Regions from separate parts of the Homo sapiens genome. Here region 1 is linked to region 2. The links are contacts of gene promoters, found by promoter capture Hi-C in human tissues and cell types (Jung and others, 2019). All regions are on one chromosome and are shown on one strand. Each heading gives the region's core, a stretch centred on a gene start or on the middle of the fragment in contact. The rest is flanking DNA. Distances are from core to core; before and after follow the strand shown. Region 1 overlaps PUM1 (pumilio RNA binding family member 1). Region 2 holds the start of FABP3 (fatty acid binding protein 3).

Region 1 (5,414 bases), core at 2,238-4,737, 360 kb before region 2:
AAAGCTCTTAAAAGTCTCTGAATCTTACTCAGTCTTTCTCCCTTTCCTCCAAAACATATGCGTCTATACTCAACTGCTGTGGTTAGCAGCATCTGAAATGACTCTTAATGATCTTCACTTACAAGTACTCATACCCTGAGTAATCCCCTTCCCCTGACTGTGGGCTAGACCTATGACATGCCTCTAAGAAATAACATAAGACAAGTCATGGGATGTTCCTTTCAAGATGTTACAAAAGCTGTGATTTCCATCTTGCTTGTCCTCTTCTATCTATTGTCCTGATTGCTTACTCTGATGATGACTGCTGCTATGTTGTGAGCTGCCCTATACAGACGCCACATGAAGCCAAGAGAGAGACATCTCTGGACAACAGCTACATATACAAAGCTGTTGCTCCGCAGCTTCCCACTGAACTCTGCCTCTGCCCTGGGTCATTTACACACAATTAAGAACTGAGATCCTCCGTCCAACAACCAGCAAAGAATGGATTCTGATGGTTGATACCACATGAGTGAGTTTGGAAACAGACCTTTCTCCAAGCAAGTTTGAGACAGACCTTTCTCCAAGCAAGCTTTGAGATGAATGCAGCCAAAGTTGAAATCATGACTGCAGCTTGTGAAGGACCCTGAAGCAGATGACTCAGGAAAGTCATGCCTAGGTTCCTAACCTATAGCAACTATGAGGCTTAAACAACTGTCTTGTTTTAGGCAGGGCGTGGTGGCTTACACCTGTAATCCCAGTGCTTTCTAAGGGTGAGGCCAGGAGTCTAAGATCAGACTTAGCAACCAACATAGCGAGACTCTAGCTTTACAAAAGACTTTTTAAAAATCAGTCCGGAGTGGTGGCACACCCCTGCAGTCCCAGCTACTCAGGAGGCTGAGGTGGGAAGACTCCTTGAGCCCAGAGGTTTGAAGCTGCAGTGAGCTACGATTACACTACTGCACTCCTGCCTGGGCAACAGAGTGAGACCCTATCTCTTAAAATACACACACACACACACACACACACACACACACACACACACTGTGCTGTTTTAAGCCACTAAATTTTAGGGTGATTTGTTAAGCAGCAATAACACTGTTGTGAATATGTGGAAGTATTTTTGTATATTTGAAACACTTCTTTAGGAGTCTGTTTTCAAGAAACACTTCTTGTTCCATTTCTAATATTTAAATGTAAGTGATGAAACTAAAATCCTTTTCAATTGAAAAAAAGTAAAAGACTGGCTTTTTTAACTCGGCAAAATCAAATCAATTTAGACATGTTGAGCTTACTGAGAATTAGTAGCAATCACTTATATTCAACAGTCAGCTAAAAGATACCTAACTGTTCAAATCTGATCATATTAAAAGGAGTTAGAAACTACTGAATTATAAAACCAAATGATAATGTGTTATCCAAGTACAATTTCAAATTCAACAGTAAGCTCTCTGGAGGTAACATCATCCACAGCGTTGGGTAAAATATCCTAGTTTGCCAACCCACTGGCATAAATACCAGCAGTTGCCAAATCTTCACTTAACACACAATAACCAAAAATGTAAATGCATCCAACCTATGAAAAGATAGTTCCTATCCACCCCATCAAGAATCTGGAAATAAAGACTAGTTTTTTTGACAAGGCGAAAAGTAACAGATCACAAGAGAGATGTAGAGTTTGTTTTAAAGAATAACTTAGCAGTAAGAGGATTAAATGATGTGACAATTCCAAAAGAAGATAACAGGAATTAGGAATTGGTCCAACAAAAGCAAAAGAGACCCAAGGAATCAGATGTAGCCAGTATTATCCAGGTGACACATTTAAGGGCAGGGCATATGATGCACAAAGAAGCCTATTCTTATCAAAGCAATTAATGCATCTGGTTAGATAGTAGCTTAATTACACTGGACACTAAAAACACCCAAGTAATCTCCCTGGCTCCAACTCTGCTTACCAAGCCACCTTCTTAAAGAACTGGCTTCCTCCTATAGCCAACCATGCCAATCACCAAACACAACCATCCTTGTCCATCTAAGAGTTGTTTTTTTTCCTTAAAAAAAAAAAATCAGCAGACTGCATTTTGGTTTTCATACATTAGCCTCTTGTTGTTCTGGTTAGTGTGGGGTCAATATCGCAACCCAGTCATCTGAATTAGTAATAACAGTCCATTTCAAGATCTACAAACTGAGAACCATGACTTGGGGAGTCCTATCATCCCCAGCAATAAAATAAATAGACCTTGTACTCTTTCTTGTAATGAAACATTAAGTGGAATTCCTAACTGCCCCACCAATAGTGTGTGCTCTCAAATCTCTGGGAGAAACACACACACGTACACTGTTTATCCCACCCTGAATCGTAAGTTTATAAAATAAAAAAACTTATGAAAAGTAAAAAAAAAAAAAAAAAAAAAATTCAGTAAGCTTATCTATGAGGCTTCTGGAAAACAAAATAGAAGTCAAGCACTGGTTTACAAGCAATGTCAGCCACTTGAGACACTTCTTTTAAATTTGTCTGGAAACACCTTTTTTCCTTTCCATCTAACAAAAAAGAACAATACGCAAAACCACACTTAACACTTAACAATCAATCATGTCATAAACCCCTACACCAAGAACCCTTAAAACATGGATTAAGACAATAAAAAGTGGAGAATATCAAGAAACTCTAAGCTTCTTATTTTAAGAACAGTGATAAAGACCCATGAATGCTCTGAAATCACTTTATTTTAAACTAGTTTTAAATCCCAGCTGTGTGAATTTTATCCTCTTCTGCTTTTTCTCACCTATAAAATGACCTATTGTGTACAATGAAAGAGATAACACATGTAATGACATAATACAATGCTGAAACAGTAAACAAAAAATCAGCTACTATCCTTCTTTAAAAGAGCAAAGTAGCAGCCAATAGACATCACAATACTAATGATTTGTCAATGAAATGCTCCTATGTCAAACTATCAGACACAGTGATCATGGCATCACCTAGGCCATGTCAGTACAAACCTCATTACATTAACTACCCCAACAAAACAACACTACAAGAACCATGATTACGGCTTTTCAGGAACTGCAGAGGCAAGACAATTATTGCCTGGACTTGTTTGACCATACCGCCACTAATATTTGAATAGGGATTTATCAATGAGGTTTACTGATGATCTCAACAGTAAAAGGGCTCTCCAGCAACTACTCTGTACTCAAAAGGAATAAAATATTAGGTAACTGCTTACACACTCAATACAGGCTGCACAGAGCATCTCTCAGAGCAGAAATTGAGCATCTTAAGAAATACTACTAACATGGATGTTACAACCCTGCAGACGTGATCAGTTTGATCATGTTATTATCTAGCATCTCTAACTTACAACACAAGCTTAGTTTCACTGGAATGCAGCCAATGCAGGAAACAAATGCTTGATATTTAACTAGCTGGTAAGACAGACCAACAACCAAAACAATTATTAATCTCTTAGTATATATCTCACCACACTCTCAGTACATTAAGAGAAGATGACATCAACTCAGAGAAAGGACCTTTCAGAACTAACTGAAATGAGGAAGTTTGATTGGTAACCACTGATAATCACAGGTGGTAGTCTTACTTGTAAAAATTTTGTATTTTTCACAACTTATGTAGTCTCTCCATACCACAGACTGTTGTTGTGAAATCAAGTGAGATAGTATATGAAGTGCTTTTATAAATACTAAGAACTATACTGATATTAAGTTATACTAAAGCTTTATTTAAAGCTTTAACTTATTAAAACATATCTTTAAGAAAAGCCAAGTTCATTCATTCCTGGTTAGCGTAATTCTTTTGGAAGGGCCTCAGAAACTACATACGTATCAAAAGTCACAGCCAGGTATGATGGCTGATTCCTGCAATCCCAGCACTTTGGGAGGTGAGGCAGGAGGATAGCTTGAGTCTAGGAGTTAAAGACCAGCCTGGAAAACATGTGACAGCCCATCTCTACAAAAACTTAAAAAAGCCAAGTGTGGTAGCACATGCCTGTGGTCCTAGCTATTCAGGAGGCTGACCTAGGTGGGAGGATCACCTGAGCCCAGGAGGTCAAGGCTGCAGTGAGCCATGATTGTGCCACTGCACTCTAGCCTGGGCAACAGAGCAAGATCCAGTCTCCAAAAAAAAAAAAAAAAAAAAAATCTACATTCAAAGTGCTTGTAAAAATAAAAAAAAGTCGAGGCTGGATGCAGTGGCTCATGCTTGTAACCCCAGCACTTTAGGAGGCTGAGGTGGGAGGGTCACTTGAGGAGTTCAAGACCAGCCTGAGCAACATGCCAAGACCCAATCTCTATTTTTAAACATTAAAATTAAAAAAAAAAGAATTAAAAAAGTTGAAAGTAGGCCTGTAATCTCAGCACTTTGGGAGGCTGAGGCGGGCGGATTGCTTGCGGTCAGGAGTTCAAGACCAGCCTGGACAACATGGTGAAAACCTGTCTCTACTAAAAATACAAAAATCAGCCAGGCGTAGTGGCCAGGCGCCTATAATCCCAGCTACTCGGGAGGCTGAGGTAGCAGAATCACTTGAACCCAGGAGGCGGAGGTTACAGTGAGCCAAGATCGCACCACTGCACTCCAGCCTGGGCGACAGAGCAAGACTGTGTCTCAGAAAAAAAAAAAAAAGTTGAAAGCAAACTGCAAACTAAGTATTCAACAATAAATTAGCTGTGGGCCTGGTGCAGTGGCCCACACCTATAATCCCAGCATATTGGTAGGCAGAAGGATCACTTGAGGCCAGGAATTCAAGACTAGCCTGTGCAACATAGTGAGACCCTGTCTCTTTAAATAAATAAATAAGCAAGCAAACAAGTTGTAGTACAACAATGTAAGCTCACCAAAAATAGCCATAATGACTACATGTAATATTTATAAAATAACATTAAATTTTAAAAGTAAAATACAAAATTGTACATGTAAAGACTGCTTCTCCTCATGCATTCTTCCCTTTTGGATCAAGACTGGAAAGAAAAATAAAAGCAGAAGAGTGTTTGTTAGTGCACTGGGATTGTGGATTACTTAATTCAAAATATACTTTTGTTATGATTTTCAACTAATTCTCTAATAAATAAAACTGAGATTATGGTGGTCTGAAATTCACTGCAAATAAATAAGGCATATCTCTCAAGCAGATACATTTCACTTCAACATAATTTCATTTTCTTTTTCTTTTTTTTTTTTGAGACGGAGTCTCGCTCTGTTGCCCAGGCTGGAGTGCAGTGGCATGATCTCGGCTCACTGCAAGCTCCACCTCCTGGGTTCACGCCATTCTCCTGCCTCAGCTTCCCGAGTAGCTGGGAATACAGGCACCTGCCACCACGCCTGACTAATTTTTTATATTTTTAGTAGAGACGGGGTTTCACCATGTTACTCAGGATGGTCTTGATCTCCTGATCTCGTGATCTGCCCACCTCGG
Region 2 (5,440 bases), core at 1,207-3,706:
CTCAAACCCGTCTCCTGACTCCCAGTCTAAGGCTTTACAGAGACTCTCTTCCTGACCCAAGCATGGCTTCCTTGGGTACTGGGCAAAGTCCTAAGTGTCCTGCAACCAAGTAAAGAACAAAGAACTAATCATGACTGCCCCCTCTCCCCCCAGCAGCTTAACATTGAACTGTCTTCCAAGGCAAAGGTGAGGCAGGAGGCAGCCCAGTGTAGTGAGGTGGTGTGTGTAAAGTCTCCAAATGTACCTGGCTACATAGTGCTTGCTGGAAGCTAGGTACTCTGCACATGCCCTACATGGGTTGTTTTACTTAATGCTTGTAACAGCCTCGAAGCGTAGATTATCCCCAGTTTACAATGAAGAGTGCGAAGTGTCTTGTCGAAATTCAAAGAGAATAAACTACTGACATAGATTTGAACCTCGGCTCCAAAACTGTTGACTATTTTCACTGGGCGATTCTGTCCAGCACATACTCAATCCAGGCCAGCAGTTGTGCCTGTGGTCACTGGTACTAGACGGGACCTCTTTGCCCCTTGAGAGCCCTAGGTCTACAGCAGGAGGGGCAGGGGCTGCCTCTGCTGTTATGCTGTCAGCCCACCCTTGCTTGGCCAGTGAGGAACTTGGCATTGCCCCTTGGTATCAGGATGAGTCAGGCCAATCACACTCCCTTGCACAGAGCAGGACCTTGTCACGGCACTGGGAGCTCTGTTCACTTAGGATCTACCCAGAGGTATGGAGTGTTTGAAAAGGAAACCACTGCGGGATGAGTGAGGGTCTGAACCAAGAGAAACTAAGAATATTGAGCTGACAGAATTTAGGAGACTCAGGGAGATCTGGGTTCTACTTAGAAATGAAGCCAGCACTACTTACTGAGAGCTGAGGAGGGTATTTTCCCAGGCTTTCCATTCCTACGATGAGAATGCTGGCTGCCTTAACATAAGCTGCTGAAAGATAACAGGACTTCAGGGAGACCAGCCCGCTGACCCAACTCGGGGCAGAATAAGGGAACAAGAATGGTAAAGTTGTTGCAGCTCAATTCAAGACTCAGCTCTGGCCCAGCTTTGGAAGGAGGAACTAAATCTGGGCATTCCAACTTCCCAATAGCTGCTGGGCTGTGTTCGTGGGGGCTGGGGGCTGCTCCTCTAAGAATGACTGCCTGCCTAGAATTACTGGGCATAGCGCCCAAGATAGGGTAGAGGCCGTTGAGAGCTTTGACCTCTCCATCTAAGCCCAAAGCAGTAGAAGAAGGGCTGAGGTCAATCATTAGCTAAGCAGTTTCTACTTTTCTTCCCACTCGCAGGGCCTGTAGGGTAGTGGGAAGAGCTCTGGGTTACAGATCTAGAAACCTTAGATTTTCATATTGGCTCTGCTGTGGAATTGTTATAATACATTTCTACTCTCCTGGTTTCAGTTTCCCTGTTGAACTAGATGGTATGGGAATCTCCAAGTTCCTCACCTGTGAGATTCTTTGAATCCTGATTCTTCTCCATCCCAACACCACAGCAGTTCTCCACATCCTCCTAAACCAGTGATCCTCCCTCCCAGGTCTTGACCTTGCCTTGGGACCCTCTACTGCACATCAGAAGTCCAATGGCTTTCTCTGCCTACCCCTCGCACAGATAGGTGAGCCTTGGGTTGCAGGAAAGGCCCAGCTGATCATGGGCCTCTTGCCCCACCCTACCACGAGGCTCACAGACAGTGATGAAGGCCTGGATACATAGACTGCAGGACAAGGTCAGACTGGCTGGTGAGAAAGGGCATTCTCCAGCAAGAATTCTCTTCCCTAACCAAGCAGAGATGGGGATTGCTGCTTACTGCAGGTTCCTGTCTTACGTCCTTCTCATATCTGATTCACTGATCCACAGTTTTTTCCCCACTAATCTTTTTCCTCCTAGGTATTTCCTACTTGTTTACATCATTGTACACTCCCTGGCTGCCCCATTCCCTTTCTGGGTTCAGTCTCCTCCAATTTCTAAACTACCCATGCCCCTGTTCTTTTTCTCCCCTGGCTACACTCCCTTTCCTGTGATCAGTGTTCTTTATCCAAACCCTCCTCCTACCTCCAAATCACATATCCCTCTTCCTGGAAAGAGCCTCCCACACAGCTGCCTCCTTCCACCACCTCCCTACCGTGGTCTCTAACCAGATTTGGACCACCAAAGCCCCCTCTGAACAGGCCCCACCTGCTCTAGGCCAGGCTGCCATCTCCGCGCTCCCCTATTCCCCAGTCTTAACCAGGAGGGATGCGGCAGGAGTGCTGCGTGGGGCTAGGCACGCCACCAGCCAGTCCCCAAGCCAACATCCTGAGCCCCGCGGCTTGCTCACCGAGTGACTTCATGTAGTCATCGAAATTCTTGCTGTCCACTAGCTTCCAGGTGCCCAGGAAAGCGTCCACCATAGTGATGCTGGGCTAGGCTGAGAGAAGCTACAAGAGAGCAGGCGTGCAAGGGCTCCGACGGCGGCTCCCTGCCCGGGCTGCCGCTTTAAATAGCCCTCGCATCACATGAGGAGACGTGGCCCACGCCCCCGGCTCCCGAAATAGGAAGCCCCAGGCTAGGGCTCACCCAGGAGGGGCTGGTGCGCCCATCCCCCAACCCACCGAGGTGGGTGGGGACCAGCCAGTGGCGCCCTGCTAGCCTGCGTCAGCGCCAGTGCCTGGCCCCCGAGTCCCTACCCCAGGCTGGTAGGACCTTCTCCCTTTCCTGGCCTCTAGGCACTCTGGAATCTGAGAAGGAAGCAGCCAACACCAGCCCGAGAGCTAGGGCGCATGCCATGGTGGATATCTTCCCGTCCCCCAGTCCCTCTTTGAGCTTAGCGTCAGAGCAGAGATGAGACTAGAAAAGCAAAACGCCCTTGGGCTGGTGCCCACGCCGGGGAAAGCTCTGGTTGACTTCTGGCACGGGCATCTGTCCTCGTTTTACAAGTGAGGAGTCCGAGGCTCACAGGGGAACTGACAAGGTCTCAAGAAATAGGAGGGGGTGAATGGAGCTCAGATTGCAAGCTTAGTCTAGCGGGCTTCAGAGCTCGCGCTCTCCCTTCACTCTCACTGCCTGGTGGCGGAGACAGTCACCAGCGGCTCGGTCTGCGGCTGAGCTGACCTTGTCCTCTGCCTGTTTTGAGCAAAAGCCTGACCCTTCGCGCCCCGCCCGCCTCACACGTGCTTGCCCCTCCCTGCGGAATGTCTCCTGCTGGCCCTCCTCCGTCCCCACCCCACCCCACCATCTAGCTCCCCACCCGCCCCTGCAAGTGCTCTGGGCTTTTCCGGTTTCTTCGCACAGCTCCGAGCTTTAGCTCAGGTCGTTCCCAGCTCCCCTCCTGCAGAAATTCTGCCAATTCGGTCAGCTCTTCAAGGCCCATGGCTGCCTTCCCCACCTGCCGCCCTTTCTTTGGCCTGTGCACACTAGCAAGCCGCCTGCACTTTTGGGTAATTTGCTGCCTCCTTTCGAGAGCCTGTTGTGCGGTGGTTTGTCACTGTATAGTTTACTAAGCACTTTCAGTAAAAATAAGACCTGCCTTGTCTTGCTATTTATTGCATGCTGAGGGCTTTGGGTGTATTGTTTCATTGAACTTTTTATTTTATTATTATTTTTTAGAGACAAAGTCTCTCGCTGTGTCTCCCAGGCTGGAGTACTGTGACGCCATCATAGCTCACTGCAGCCTCAAACTCCGGGGCTCAGGGGATCCTCCTACCTTAGCCTCCCCAGCAGCTGGGACTATAGGCACACGCCACCACACCTGGCCTCATTGGACTTTTAAAGCAAAATCCATGAAGTAGGTGTTACTGTATTATTTTCTCTTTTTAAAAAGGTGAACAAGTTGAAGCTCTGAGGAGCTCACTCATTAATTCAGCAGTTAATAAAGCACCTACTTTGTGCCAGGCCCTGCTTTGGAGAGAGACAACAGGGAACAAGACACACATTCACCTCTGGGCAGCCAGACATAAAACTAGCGTGGTGCCTCTAAAGGGAGTCCTGTCCTGTCCTGACCTGAGGGCCCAATGTAGACTTCTCAAAGGAAGTGAGGTATAAATGAATTTCTGAGGGATGGCAGGAGGCCCTGCACACCAAGGAGTAGTGCCGAACTGAATTTCAGCCAGCAGCAGCCTGTCCAGGGTGGGCCTGCAGGAGCCAACACAGGAGCCCAGAGGCCTGCCACGTGCGTAGAGTATGGCAGGCCCTCCTTCCTGGGACTCTGTTTCTCCATGTGCAAACCCTGCCTCCCTTCCCTGGACTGTTCTGAGAACAAGGCCAGGGAGGAAGAGCCCTCTCCCCACCCTAAGATCTTGATTCCTTTGGACGGTCCAGTTGCCAGAAGACTCAGAGGCTCATTTCTGCCAAAGCTATAGGGACAGGCTTCAGGGCTGGGCATGGAGCCTTGGTGATCTCACTGTTGGAACAGGTGCCAGGAGAGGAGGAGGGGGAAAAGATGATTTCTGACTCAAGGTCGCAGCCCTCACACATAGGGCCTCCTCTCAAGGACTGTGTGGCCAGGAACTAGAACTGACTCCTTATGTGGCCCTTGTAATGCAATGATGGAGAGCTGGGGCTGGGCTAATGGCTGCTGGCAGATCTGCGTTCTGATCTGAATTTTGTTGGGTACTAGCTGTGTGGCCTTGGGCAATTCACTTAAGCCATTCTGAGTCTCCATTTTTTTTTTTTTTTTTTTGAGAAGGAGTCTCGTTGCCCAGGCTGAAGTGCAGTGGTGTGATCTTGGCTCACTGCAACCTCCACCTCCTGGGTTCAAGCAATTCTCCTGCCTCAGCCTCCCAAGTAGCTGGGATTACAGGCAACTGCCACCACATCTGGATAATTTTTGTATTTTTAGTAGAGACGGGGTTTCGCCATGTTGGCCAGGCTGGTCTTAAACTCCTGACCTCAGGTGATCTGCCCACCTGGACCTCCTAAAGTTCTGGGATTACAGGCATGAGCCACCACGCCAGCTTCAGTTTCATCTTTAAAATGAAGGGATTTTTTTTTGGAGATGGAGTCTTGCACTCTGTCACCCAGGCTGGAGTGCAATGGTGTTATCTCAGCTCACTGCAACCTCTGCCTCCCAGGTTCAAGTGATTCTCCTGCCTCAGCCTCCCAGGTTCAAGTGATTCTCCTGCCTCAGCCTCCCAAGTAGCTGGGACTATAGGCGCGGGCCACCGCGCCAGGCTAATTTTTATATTTTTAGTAGAGACGGGGTTTCACCATATTGGCCAGGCTGGCCTTGAACTCCTGACCTCAAGTGATCCGCCTGCCTTGGCCTCCCAAAGTGCTGGGATTACAGGCATGAGCCACCACGCCTGGCCTATTTATTTATTTGGAGAGAGTCTCACTCTGTCACTCAGGCTGGAGTGCAGTGGCATGATCTCAGCTCATGGCATTCTTGACCTCCCAGACTCAAGGGATCCTCCCACCTCAGCCTCCTGAGTAGTTAGGACTACAGGCGCATGGCACCA

What was found. The method cuts DNA at HindIII sites, captures the fragments that hold promoters and counts their contacts. A contact is called where the count stands out against the background at its distance.
Region 1: a contact is called between a fragment that was not itself captured here and the fragment with the promoter of FABP3 in region 2, in 1 of the 25 tissues and cell types used here (mesendoderm cells).

The regions. Positions count from the first base shown.
Region 1 is chr1:31,010,181-31,015,594 of GRCh38, forward strand. The region is part of intron 3 of PUM1 (pumilio RNA binding family member 1); the gene reads right to left. Among named protein-coding and RNA genes, the nearest start is that of SNORD103C, 45 kb to the left of the region's middle. The HindIII fragment of the contact is 4,000 bases long and covers 1,488-5,414 here.
Region 2 is chr1:31,370,620-31,376,059 of GRCh38, forward strand. It overlaps FABP3 (fatty acid binding protein 3), which reads right to left and starts at 2,457. Exons shown (of 4, transcript NM_004102.5): 1 at 2,323-2,457. The coding sequence starts at 2,395. LOC124903892 (a long non-coding RNA gene) reads left to right here and starts at 3,680. Exons shown (of 2, transcript XR_007065573.1): 1 at 3,680-3,768. RefSeq lists a silencer at 2,643-2,937. The HindIII fragment of the contact is 11,361 bases long and covers 1-5,440 here.